Regions from separate parts of the Homo sapiens genome. Here region 1 is linked to region 2. The links are contacts of gene promoters, found by promoter capture Hi-C in blood cells and fetal thymus (Javierre and others, 2016). All regions are on one chromosome and are shown on one strand. Each heading gives the region's core, a stretch centred on a gene start or on the middle of the fragment in contact. The rest is flanking DNA. Distances are from core to core; before and after follow the strand shown. Region 1 holds the start of TMEM229B (transmembrane protein 229B). Region 2 holds the start of VTI1B (vesicle transport through interaction with t-SNAREs 1B).

Region 1 (6,682 bases), core at 2,380-4,879, 190 kb before region 2:
AGGTTCCTGCCACCACACCCAGCTAATTTTTGTATTTTTAGTAAAGACGAGGTTTCACCATGTTGGCCAGGCTGGTCTTGAACTCCTGACCTCAAGTGATCTGCCTGCCTCGGCCTCCCAAAGTGCTGGGATTATAGGCACGAGTCACCACACCTGGCCGAGCCTACATTCTAATAACTATAAAAGGCAAGGCTGGGATTCAAACCCCACAAATCTGGTTCCAGAGTCTTTGCTCCTAATCAGCACACTGCACTGCCCCCGAGGCTGACTGCAGGCTCCTCTGAGGGCACTACCATTTTCTGAGTTCCTGCTTCTGGAAGGCTGGGATGGTATGTGGAGAGACAACAGGAAGCAAGGAGAAGGTTGTGAACTTCTAGGTGGTTCATTAACAAACTTCCCAACTGGGTGTCAGAGTTCCTAAAGGCTCCCAGCCTGTTCCTCGGGATCCACACAGAGGCCCTCCAGGGTCAAAGCTGACAGTCACAGGACCATGACAGCAACCAACCCTCAGGCCCCAAGGCATGCGCCATTCAAAGGCCCCTCACCAGGACACACACAACCCAGAGGCCCCCTGACTGCCAGCCCACACCAGTGCTCCTGGGAGTCTCAGATGGCCCGGCCCAGCCCTGCCATGGAGACACCAGCCAAGAGCAGGGGCCAGCTGCCCAGAGGAGCAACAGCCAGCATGTCAGGAGGAGCGGTCCGAACACAGAGGATTTCAGGGGGCCTCAGATCCCAAGCAAACCGCAGCAGGAGGCAGGGCAGGGTGAGTGGGCTTGGGGGATGGAGTCAGTTCTGGCACAGAGGTCCCTGGGGCTCAGAAAGCGAAGGATGCCCTGCACGGGGGACTGGCAGGCTGGCATCCCAGACCTGTATGTGGCTGCCTTGCTGTTACCATTCAGATCTCAGCTGAGCTGTCATATCTCAGGGACTTTTGATCCCCAGTCCAAAATAGCCTCTCTGTCACTCACATCATTCCATTTTATTTTCTACATAGCACTTTCACTTTCTGATATGTTGCTACTTATTTATGGTCTGTCTCTCCTCAACTAGAATGAAAACTTCATGAGAGCAGGGGCACTGTCTTGTTCACTGCTGTTTAGTCAGTGCCTAGAGTGGTGCCTGGCAATAATACCTAGTAATACTTGTGGAATGAATGGATGGATGAGTGGGCCCAAACAGGCCCAGGCCCTTAAACACTGATGAGGGCAGGTATAAACAGCTAGCTGCCTCGGTCTCTCTTCCCTCCTTTCTTGAGAAATATAGCCTTCTAAAACATTTAATTCTAGCATTTAATTTTTTTTCTAATTATAAAAGCAACATGTGCTCACAGCTGAAATTTAAACATTACAGAATGACATAGAAAGCAAAAGTTCCCTGTAATCACACATCTTAGAGAAAGTCACTATTAATGGTATGTTGTGTAGTCATCCGGATTCAATTTTATTTTTTAAAAAGCCAATCCATGCATCATAGAAGAAGCATTCATAGGCCGGGCATGGGGGCTCACACCTGTAATCCCAGCATTTTGGGAGGCTGAGGCGGGAGGACTGCTTGAGCCCAGGAGTTTGAGACCAGCCTGGGCAACATAGTGAGACCTCATTTCTAATAAAGAAAAAAAAAGAAAAAGCACTCATAATTCTGAACTAACAGCGATTACCATTTCTCCTTTGCAATATTTTCCTATGTGTGTATTTTACAAGTCACCATAATATACTTATTCTGCAACCTGCCATTTTTACTTGTCATAACTGTTTTTCCAAGTTGTTATATAGCCTCTGTGCTCATTATTATAATGGCTGTGTAATATTCCAGCAAGCGGAAAACTGTAATTTACTTAACCTAGATGTCCAAAGGGAACAGTTGTTTCCCATTTCTACTACTACAGATGATATAACGAGAATTACCTTTAATGCCTGTAATGGAAGAATTCAGCCCTTTTCTTCTCTGGTACTATTTCCTAATAATATATCTTAATGGATAATTCCAGAAGGAGAATCACTGAACCAAACGGTACAACAGCCTTAAGGCTGATGGCATAAATTGCTCTGGGGAGATGTGCCTCCCATCTGAGGAACGACGTTCCCACAGAGGCACCCATGGCCATCTCTTTACCCCCAACTCCCCTCCTACAGTCTAGGCTTGCTCACACCACCCTGGCTACAAATCAACTCAAGAACACACTTCCTGAGAAACTCTCCAGTCAAACTGACTTTGTAAGCCCAGGCTGAGTGGAAAACAGATTCTGGCCCTGAATTATAAACTGTCAACTAGGAGAGTCAAGATCTACCTAAAGTGGAAAAAGACCTGATTACCCCTTTTCTACTCCCTGCAAATTCCTGCATGGAATCTGAAGCTCTGGGTTCCCATGGACCAGCCTAGGAACTCCAAAAAAAGCTTGTCTGTTCAAGATTGCAAAAGCCCAGCTCTGCCTGCCATGCCTTCTGGGGAGCTTCCTTCCTGCAGGCCTCTGATCCCACCAGGCTACGGGCCCTGCACAGACATAACAGCCTTCAGGCCAGACAGGCCTCTGGGGGTTGGGAAAGCAGCCAATTGTCATTTTTTAAGGCATCATCAAGGAAAAGCCAGGGGCTGAGGCTGGAAAGAAAGGCCTGTGAGGACAGGCAGGGCTGTGCAGTTAGGAGCCTCTCACCCTACCTCGAGCTTGTCTCGCTGAGGAGGAGATGCTGCTGCTGATATGTGACAAAAGCAAGAGGACATGCTCCTCCAGATCCCCTGGTGGTCACTCTTATGGCAGCTAAGGCTCACAAATCCCCCCACCTCCCAGGGCCCTGGATGCCCTACTCCAGGCCTCCTAGACCAGCAGCACATGCATTGCTCATGGCTTCTGGGCAGAGTCCAGTCCCAGGTGATGCATGGTCCTCACTGCACAGATCTGAAGCCTGACGGCCAAAGTAGATGCTGTTTCCCAGGTGTGAGTGCTCGCTTCACTCACGCCAGACAATCTGAATGATATGGTTTGGCTGTGTCCTCACCCAAATCTCATCTTGAATTTCCACCATGTTGTGGGAGGAACTGGGTGGGAGGTAATTGAATCATGGGGCCAGGTCTTTCTCATGCTGTTCTTGTGATAGTGAATAAATCTCATGAGATCTGATGGGTTTTTGTTTTGTTTTGTTTTGAGACAGAGTCTTGCTCTGTTGCCAGGCTGGGGTGCAATGGCACGATCTTGGCTCACTGCAACCTCTGCCTCCCAGGTTCAAGCGATTCTCCTGCCTCAGCCTCCTGAATAGCTGGGACCACAGGTGCATGCCACAATGCCCAGCTAATTTTTGTATTTTTAGTACAGATGGGGTTTCACCATGTTGGCCAGGATGGTCTCAATCTGTTGACCTTGCGATCCACCCACCTCGGCCTCCCAAAGTGCTGGGATTACAGGCGTGAGCCACAGTGCCCGGCTGATCTGATGGTTTTATAAGGGAGAGTTTCCCTGCACAAGCTCTCTTTCTGCTTGCTACCAACCTTGTAATATGTGACTTGCTTCCCCTTGCCTTCCACCATGATTGTGAGGCTTCCCCAGACACGTGGAATTAACCCTCTTTTTCTGTATACATTTTCCACTCTTACGTATGTCTTTATCAGCAGCACGAAAACAAACTAATACACTGGGTCTGGCCTGGATTTTAGAGGCCATGTGGCCATAAGACGGCTCCCGCATGTGATGGCCCAATATTGCTTGACATTCCCCTCCCATTGCCCTGTGACAGGACCTTGGATGGGGAACAGACTCAGAACTAGAACCTCCAGACTCGTGCCCATGCTGATGAGGTGCCGAGCAGGCAGGATCGCTGGGCTGGTGATCCCCTGGGTGCTTGTAACATACTCACTTATCACACCCTTGAGTGTGCAGCTCACAACAGACATCAGGATCACTGTCCAGGAGTGTCCTGGGTTAACCTTTGTTGGCTGGGCCTCAGTGCCATTCTCAGCAACGTAGGCAAGCATCAGCCCTAGGGCTCAGCTGATCCTTGGCTGGGGGGCTGGCAGCTTCCATGTGTCCCTGGGAATAAAAGAGGAGGCTTTTATTAGCTTAAACTGCCCCCAGCAGATCCAAGAAAAACATTGCAAGGGCCTGGGCTCTGGGCTCAGCACCAGACACTCATCCCACCCTGGCCACCAGGGCCCCTTCCCGGAACCTACCCCCTCCTCTTTGCATCCAGTTTGCTCAGGTCTGATTAATCCAGCCACAAAAGTCTGGGATGGTCCTGGACAATCCACATGTCCAGGGTTAGGACTTAGGGCTTCTTGCCTAAATGTGTGAACACTTGTGAATCTGAGAGGGGATATAATTTTAGAATCCAGCTCCATTCTCATTCAGCTTCAAATTACATTCTCACCTTCACCCTGTAGTGGGTACATCTGTTCTCAAGGGCGGTCAGAACCTCATGGAAGGCAGACAATGTAGGACATTCGTTTCAGCACTTTGAAAGCAGAGAACAACCACTCGTGCAGAAAAACAAAATGTGTGCTAAACCTTTCTACGTACTATTCTACCTCTCTAATATTTATTCATCTCATTTTATTATTTCACCATTATTATGGTTGAGGCCCTTCCTATGAACATCAGTAACCAGCTACAAGCTAATACAAATCTTACTTTATAATGCCCTTTGCCATGTACTTTAAAAAAAAAAATCAAGTAGAGACGGGTCTTGCTATGTTGACCAGGCTGGTCTCAAGCTCTTGGCCAACCCTCCCACCTCAGCCTCCCAAAGTGCTAGGATTATAGGCGTGAGCCACTGTGCCTGGCCAGCCATGTACAGCCATGTTTTTACTACTATCCCTAAGACTTGACTATTTAATGGAGATTCCAACATTTTTTGTTTTAATATGAAAGTGCTAAAGCTTCCCTGAAAACCCCCTGGATACAACACCATCTGCATATGCCCAAGGACAGCACTCAGGCCCAGCATGGCCCTCTGGGACAGCCCAGCCACTCAGAAGCTGAGAACAGTATGTGGCTGGGGGTGGGAGCTGGCACTCCCCTGTGGATGACCAGGCAGGATGGACCAGAGGTGCTGGTCTGTGCTGATGCCCATGTCCACCTTCCCCACTCCCCTCTGACCACCAGGGTCTCTGAGTAGAGGCCGCTTGGGCCCTTGCTCAAGCTGACAACCTGTGAGGCAGCCAGGCAGCCGAGGAGAAGTGAAAGGGCAGGAGTGGGGGAACTGAAACTCACTGTATGGTGTGGTTTTGGGGGGTGCCCCCCTGGGTCTCCCCCCGGGGCCTCTGCACTGAGAGCATCACAGTGGGCTGCTGTGCTCAGCCTTGCCTCCCCCTCCCCAGCTCCTTCACAAACGGGACCCTCCAACCCTCCCTGATCTGTCCATCTTACCGGCTTCTTCCAGCCTGCCGGATGGCGGACAGGGGTCACCTTGACACGTACCTATCACCTTGAGGAAAAGGTTTTAACGGAGCATGTCCGAACCCTCTGGGACTCTCTCTCCACCAGCACCACAAGGACCATGTGCCTGGGGAGTTCAATCCCACCTGTGGAGACTTCTCCCCACCCTAGGCCCTCAGCCACATCCACGGCACAAGTCAGAACTAAAACAGAAACAGAAACCAAAGACCACATCCTGCCGGCACAGCCTGCGGGTTACTGCAGCCAGCTCTGGGAGCCCACTGCCTGCTGAGGTGCAGCCCTGGCAGATGAAGCCCCAGCACTCAGAAAGGCTCCTTTTGAGGGCAGTGTCCCACCAGACACCTCCCACTTCCTGGTCTGCAGGCTTTTTCCCCAGGAAAAACTTAGTTGCAGGGAGGATGAGATGATGGTGCACCTCTCCCTCCAAGTGCATAAGCTGTCCCTAGGCCTCACTGACACTCCCTATCCCCCAAGAGTAGATCCCAGGGGACAGGGGACATGAGGCTCCTTTGAGGACTGCAGGACCTGAACCAGAGTTTCTTGGAACATATGAATGAATGATGAGCCCTTATAGCAACTAACATATGGATGGAACTTAGATCATCTCTCATGATTTTCTCAGGCTCCTGAGGGGCAGGAAGGGCAGAAATGGTCACCTCTATTTTAGAAATGAAAACACAGAGGGTTCAGGACATTAAGAGATTTGGCCAAATCCAAACATTTGATTCAAATCCCAGTCCTCAGCCTCCAGAATCACCCTGTCCCCATACAATGTGCCTTCGAACTGCTTCCCACCCAAATCTCATCCTTAAGGCACATGTCTGCATGCAAGGGTCTTCAAGTCAGTGTAAACTACTTAGTCCATTCCAAGTAAGCTGCTTATTTTGCAAACTTATAGCTGAGTTTGTCCATGCAGCTTCTGGTCAATATGCCTGAGACGCTGCTGGGAGCGTGAAGAAGCAGAGACCACCGGCCTGTTTCAAGCACTGTCATCTCTCCTGCCCTCCTCTGCAGCCACCATTCTGACTCCTTCTTCCAGACCCTGCTCCCTCCTCACTCCTTTGCGATGCCGTCCCACAACCTCCAGGTCATTCCATCACTGATGTTCCCAGGGGGATCTGACCATCCTTCAACTGAAACATGTCATCCCATCTTAAAATTCTTTCTATGTAGCCGGGCGCGGTGGCTCACGCCTGTAATCCCAGCACATTGGGAGGCCGAGGCGGGCGGATCACGAGGTCAGGAGATCGAGACCATCCTGGCTAACATGGTGAAACCCCATCTCTACTAAAAGCA
Region 2 (6,393 bases), core at 1,110-3,609:
CATGCCTGGCTAATTTTTTTATTTTTTGTAGAGATGAGGTTTCACCATGTTGCCCAGGCTGGTCTCAAAATCGTTCAACACAGCAATACTCCTGCCTCAGCTTCCCCAAGTGCTGGGATTACAGGTGTGAGCCACCATGCCTGGCCTGCAGTCTACTTTTTTTTCTTTTCTTTTCTTTTTTTTTTTTTTTTGATACAGAGTCTTGATCTGTTGCCCAGGCTGGAGTTCAGTGGCATGATCTCGGCTCACTGCAACCTCCGCCTCCTGGGTTCAAGCAATTCTGCCTCAGCCTCCTGAGTAGCTGGGACTACAGGCAACTGACACCATGCCCGGCTAATTTTTGTATTTTTAGTAGAGATGGGGTTTCACCATATTGGCCAGGCTGGTCTTGAACTCCTGACCTCAAGTGATCCGCCCGCCTCGGCTTCCCCAAGTGCTGGAATTACAGGTGTGAGCCACCGTACCCTGCCTGCAGTCTACTTTTCAATCACATAAATCAGATCCCACAATGCTTCTGCACAGTATCTTTTAACTGCATCCCATCATATTTAGAAAAAGGCACAAGTCTTTCACCATGGTCCACAAGGCCCTACATGATCTGGCCCTGCTTATCGCTCTCCTTTGCTCACTCCATCCCAAACACATGGAACTTCCTGCTCTTCGCTGAACACACCAAGCTCATTTCTGCTTAAAGGCATTTGCAGTGCTATTCCCTCCTTCTGACACTCACTTCTCCCTGATTTCTGGTTTACTCCCTCACTTCATTTAAGTCTCTGTTCAAACGCCATCTCCTCAGAGAGGACTTTCACAACCGCCCTATTTAAAACTGAAGTCCCAAAGAAGGCGGATCACTTGAGGTCAGGAGTTAGAGATCAGCCTGGCCAACATGGCAAAACCCTGTCTCTACTAAAAATACAAAAATAATTAGCTAGGGGTGGTGGCGCAACTGTAATCCCTATTACTCCAGAGGCTGAGGCAGGAGAATTGCTTCAATCTGGGAAGTGGAGGTTGCAGTGAGCCGAGATCGTGCCACTGCACTCCAGCCTGGGTGACAGAGTGAGACCCTGTCTCAAAAAAAAAAATGATAAATAATAAAATAAAACTGAAGTCCCATCCCCTATTCTTTTACTCTGATTTACTTTCCTGTATTCTTTAACACTGCCTCTTAATAGTTATATATTGTTTATCACCTACCCACTAGAATGGGGATGTTCGTATCTTTTTCACTGTAATTTGCAATATTCACCAGCACCTAGAACGGTGCCTCACAATTCACCAGCACCTAGCACACAGCAGCCTCACAATAAATATATATTAAATACATGAATTTCATTCTCACCAGTCATTCAATTCCTATGACCTTGAGTAATTCGTTGAGCAAACACCCAAGCTCTGACTCTTAAATAAAAGCAATAAAACAAAGTTTTGTCCTTGCCATCAAATTCTATATATCCGGAGGCCAAGAACTATAGCAGCTTTTCCTATGGATTTAGGGCCGGAAAACTCTAGCTCCTCCAGACAGAACTTGTAGCAACCTGAATCATGAAATTAAGGGGTAGTAAACAGTCTCAGCTGTAAAAACGTTCAAAACAAGACCACATCTAAATGCCACAATCAGGTTTTAAAGGCCAGCTCTCTACCCTCCAATAACTGGTATTTACCAACACCCCCAAATTATGACTCCTTTGGGTTTTTAACCCTTTTTCTGTGCTACGGATCCTCTGTCAGTCTGGTGAAAACTAGACCTGTCTTGAGACTAGTGCTTTTAAATGCATAAAACAAACAAAAACAGCTATGAAAGAAACCCACTCTACATTACAGGACCGCAGATGCAAAAGCCCCTCTGCTCTATTTGCCACAGTGAAAAAAGATGAGAAAATGTGGAAGGCCATAGAAGGATCCCAGGGAACTGAATCCCGAGGTCCAATTTACTCTCAGTGGCAGCAGGGAGACCTGGGGCTGGGACAAGCCAGCCCTAGGGGGCGTGTCTGAGGACGCGGAGGGAGGAGACGCGGGCCCGGGTCTGGGAGGAAGGTGGGAGAATCTTCCTTCCAAAGCGCGCAGGGCTGCGCTCCCCACGGCGTGGCCCACCCCCGCCTCACCGGTCCCCGCCGTCCCCAGCAGCCGCTCGGGCACCCCTTGTAGGTCTTCATGGAGGCCGCGGAAGATCTCGTGCAGCTTCTCGAAATGCTCCGAGGAGGCGGCGGAGGAGGCCATGGCGCAGGCCGCGCTGGAGCAGCGGCCACCGAGATTCGGGGCCCTGGGCCCTTTCCTAGCCCGGCGGTCAGCCGCCCAGCCCAGTGGCCATAACGGCGACCGCCGCACCACCGCCGCCCAGGACGAGGCTCTTCCGGAGCCGCGGCAGGGTCCTCTCGAGCCGGAACGCCCACCTTCTCCAGCCAGTGATTGCTGGAGCGCCGGCGCGAAAGCCTGACGAGAAGTCGGGAGACTGCGCGGCCTAGGCGACTCCTGAGGGAGCGGTGCCGCGCCGGGGCGATCGGCAGTCGCGGAACCCGAGAAGTGCCGGGTCCGGGTTGGGGAAAGGCCGCAGCGAAAGGGGCCTAGGGGACCTGCGGGACTGGCAGCGCGGCCGCCTTCCTCCCGGGCCCCGCCGGCCGGCGAGGGGCGGGCGCTGCAGTGCACGCCGGGGGATGTAGTTTGGCTCGGACGAGAGCGTCTCGTCCCGGGGTCGCGCGTTGCTCCGGGTGCCAGGTTCAGCCCGCGCGGCGACAGCGGGCTTCGGCCCGATTTGATGTATGTTTGCGTCTAGACGTCGTCCTCACTGTCATCGCGCTTTGCTTTGCCACCCTGACCCGAATTCCTCGTTTCGCGTCTTGACTGTTAGCTTTCGGCCCTGGAAAGATAGCCGGGCCAGGGGCTCTGCCTGCCGTCGGGAGGTGGAGCACTTTTCTTGGAAGGCCCAGCGGCTCCCCAAGCTTTCAGAAGTGGAACCCGGCCGGGCGAGTGGCTCGCGCCTGTAATCCCAGTACTTTGGGAGGCCGAGGTGGGAGGATTGCTTGAACCCAGTAGTTCGAGACCAGCCTGGGCACAATAGCGAGAGCTCTACCAGAAACCCAAAATAAGAACCGGGCATGGTGGCGCGCACTTTTGGCCCCAGCTACCCCCGGAGGCTGAGGTCCCACCACTGCACTCCAGCTTTGGGAGACCTTGCTCCCAAGTGGAGCGAGATCTTGTCTCCAAAAAAACAAAAAACCCAAAAACCAAAAATTCAAAAGTGGAACCCAGTTAGGATGACCTCGAAATACTCTAGCTGCTAGGCCCGAGTAATTCTCCTCGTGGAGACTAATTCTCCTCCTAGGCTGCCTCGTGCACTTGTTGACAACAGGTGTTTGTCAAGCGTAGGCATTGCGAGGGATCTGGGCATGTTGGTGAATAAAACATTTAATCTCTGCTCCAGGGGAATTTATAATCTGGTGTGGAAGGTGGGCCTGGCTTCATTAGGTCTCATCTGCCACTAAGTGTCACGTGTTAAAAATTACAAGGTCCCTTCTTGCACTCCATGGGTATAAATTCCTGTCTTCACGTCGGGCATGGTGGCTCACGCGTCATCCCAGCACTTTGGGAGGCCGAGGCGGGCGGATCACTTCAGGTCAAGAGTTCAAGACCAGCCTGGCCAACATGGTGAAACCCCCGTCTCTGCTAAAAACACAAAAATTAGCCAAGCGTGGTGGTGGGCGCCTGTAACCCCAGCTACTCGGGAGGCTGAGGCAGGAGAATCGCCTGAACCCGGGAGGCAGTGGTTGCAGTGAGCTGAGATCGTGCCACCACACTCCAGCCTGGGTGACAGAGAAGACCCTATCTCAAAAAATTAAAATAAATTATTATTTTCACCGATTTCACGGTTTGCTCAAGGTGTCTGTTCTCAAATGTTTGCTTGGGAGTTCAATTTTAAACTGCCTACAAATATTAAAAGATGTATGACTGCTCAGGAGAAAATGCTTTGCTAATTTGTATCTCCTGGGCCCTCATTTTTATTAGATCAAGTTCATTGGCTGTTGATTCAACACACTTTGGTTAAGCTCTTAATATGCACTGAGCATAGACATGACCAAGTCTGAGGATAGTCAGTATACTGTGTAAGTCCCACAGCACAATGCTGGGACTTGTCACAGTACAGAAATAAGGGGCAGGTGCAAAAAAAGGATCAATAGCCTGGGGCCGGGTGCTGCGGCTCACACCTGTACCCCAGCACTTTGGGAGGCCAAGGTGGGAGGATCGCTTGAGCCCAGAGTTTGAGGCCAGCCTGGGCAACAAAGCAAGACGCTGTCTCTAATTAAAAAGAAAGGAAAAAAAAATGGCCCGGGATGATCAAGAAATGTGGAAAAAGTGTCTGTGAAGAGTGTCAAAAAAGGTTAAGTAGGAAATGGTGAATGAACAATTAGATTATCACACAACCTAAATTAATAGCATGTGGATTGAGATTACACTGTAGCTAGACTCTGGAACAAATTATTCTTTAGAATGAGAAATCATTGCACAACCATAATAATGAACAGTGTTTTCTTCTTTTGACTGTAATCAAACTTTTAATTCTTAGTTTTTATTCTGGTAAATGAAAACAAAAAATAATCAAAAAGAATTTTTATTTGTCATTGACAGTTCAATATAAATTAAGTAAAACATTAATTCATTTATTCTGCACTATTATCAGAATTTTTCTAATTTTTCCGTAAAATGACCATTTCTAAACATATAGCTTAATGGTCAAAACAAGTGCAATAAAAGATTAATTTACAAGTATCAGAAGTGAAGACTGTGGTCCTATAACTCTTTCCCCCACCAAAGTTAAAATATAATTGTCATTCCAGGAAATCAAAATCTTTTAGAATAGCACACTCCAAACAAGTGATGGGAACACTACTAATTCCTTAGACTTCCTTTGGCAGCATTACTTTTGATAAGAAGTCTCCAAATAAAATACAAAATTTTGGCACAGACATTTTAATCTTGTCAAGACAATGTAAGGAAATGCCCCAAAATATTATTAAATTGACCATAATTACCAATATCAGTCCCTAAGATAATTTTTCTGAATGAAGAATTGTTTTTTTTGTTTGTTTGTTTTTAGGATTTTTTTTTTTTTTTTTTTTTTTTTTTTTGCCACACTGGTTTTTGTTAAGACCTCATCAGTCCTGGGTGCTTGCCCTCAATTCCTCCATAGCTATGTTAGCATATTTAATATCTTTTGCTATTAATCCTTAACTAGTTAATCCTTAAAGGGCTAGTTAATCCTTAACTAGTCCCTTCATTTTGTGCATTATCTTCCAGTATTCTCCTTCTCTTTTTTTACTTCTTCCCTGCTACCCATGTGCTCTTGGTGGGTAGTTACCAACATATACAGAATCTGCTTCCCTTTGCAGCATTTCATTTGCATAAAGACTGGATGGCACTGGTTTGCTCCATCTCTGATTATTGTGGCTGTTTTGAACTTTGTGAAAATACTCCCTTGGCACACATAAACAGGAAGACACACAAAGATATACACAATTTTTAGTAGAGGTGGGGTTTCACCATGTTGGCCAGGCTGGTCTTGAACTACTGACCTCCGGTGATCCACCATGCCTGGGCAAGCCCTGCTCCTGAGCCAGTCTTTGTTATTCATGTTAAGCTGAGGTTGCAGTGTGGCCCTCTTGAAGTGAAGACTGGTTGGTTGGGAGGAACTGAATTGTGAACAAAGAAGCTAGTTCAAATTTGCATAAATCATCCCTGCTATAGCTTAGATTCTCCTAGGTAGTAGTTTCTTTCAGAAGGAAAATGAGCTGTGCAGGTCATATGAGGGTCTTCTTATCCTATTATGATATCTCTAGTAACTCTGGCAGTAACAGAAGCAAAGTAAATCTGGACATGACAGACATTTAGACGAATCTGGCAGTACACTGAGTTTTAACTGGACACCAAGCAGGCAAGGCTGGAAGGTTTTGCTCTCTTTGTGCTAAAGGTTTTGAAAACCTTGAAGGAGAATCATTTTGACAAGAAGTACTGTGTAGTCTGCTGCAGTCTTCTCTTGGGTCCAACTGGCACTGCCTGTTAGTCTATTGGGAGGCCCAGCAGGTCACAACTGACGTCCCACAGCCGCCTTGCTATAGTCTCATTACGAGCTTGGGCAGAGACCCATGCCACATGACAGTCACTGGAAGGTAAAGAGAAAGGTATGAAGCACAGTGTTAAGAATGAAGTCTGCCATCTGCCAGGGATAAGGAATATGACATAAAAACAACTAGGGATCACATGTTCTCCATGTACTTCACAGGGCCAGTGTTTGTCCTTATCTCTTCATTCTCCAGTCCTTAGCCAGAGAAAATGTAATTACCATTTTAGATCTCCTCGCTAGACCACCTCTCATCAGAATGCTTTGTTTGATATATAATGCAT

The links. The method cuts DNA at HindIII sites, captures the fragments that hold promoters and counts their contacts. A CHiCAGO score of 5 or more calls a contact.
Region 1: a fragment that was not itself captured here is called in contact with the fragment with the promoter of VTI1B in region 2 in 1 of 17 cell types (total CD8 T cells); the score reaches 5.2 in total CD8 T cells.

What each region holds. Positions count from the first base shown.
Region 1 is chr14:67,483,152-67,489,833 of GRCh38, forward strand. TMEM229B (transmembrane protein 229B) reads right to left here and starts at 5,570. Exons shown (of 3, transcript NM_001348543.2): 1 at 5,357-5,570; 2 at 3,849-4,021. It also overlaps a transcript of GPHN not described here. RefSeq lists enhancers at 4,912-4,981, 5,145-5,644, 5,282-5,701. The HindIII fragment of the contact is 2,469 bases long and covers 2,396-4,864 here.
Region 2 is chr14:67,672,273-67,678,665 of GRCh38, forward strand. VTI1B (vesicle transport through interaction with t-SNAREs 1B) reads right to left here and starts at 2,360. Exons shown (of 6, transcript NM_006370.3): 1 at 2,103-2,360. The coding sequence starts at 2,217. RDH11 (retinol dehydrogenase 11) reads right to left here. Exons shown (of 7, transcript NM_016026.4): 7 at 4,528-6,151. The coding sequence ends at 6,049. It also overlaps a transcript of GPHN not described here. RefSeq lists silencers at 2,035-2,144, 2,245-2,684. The HindIII fragment of the contact is 4,739 bases long and covers 1-2,934 here.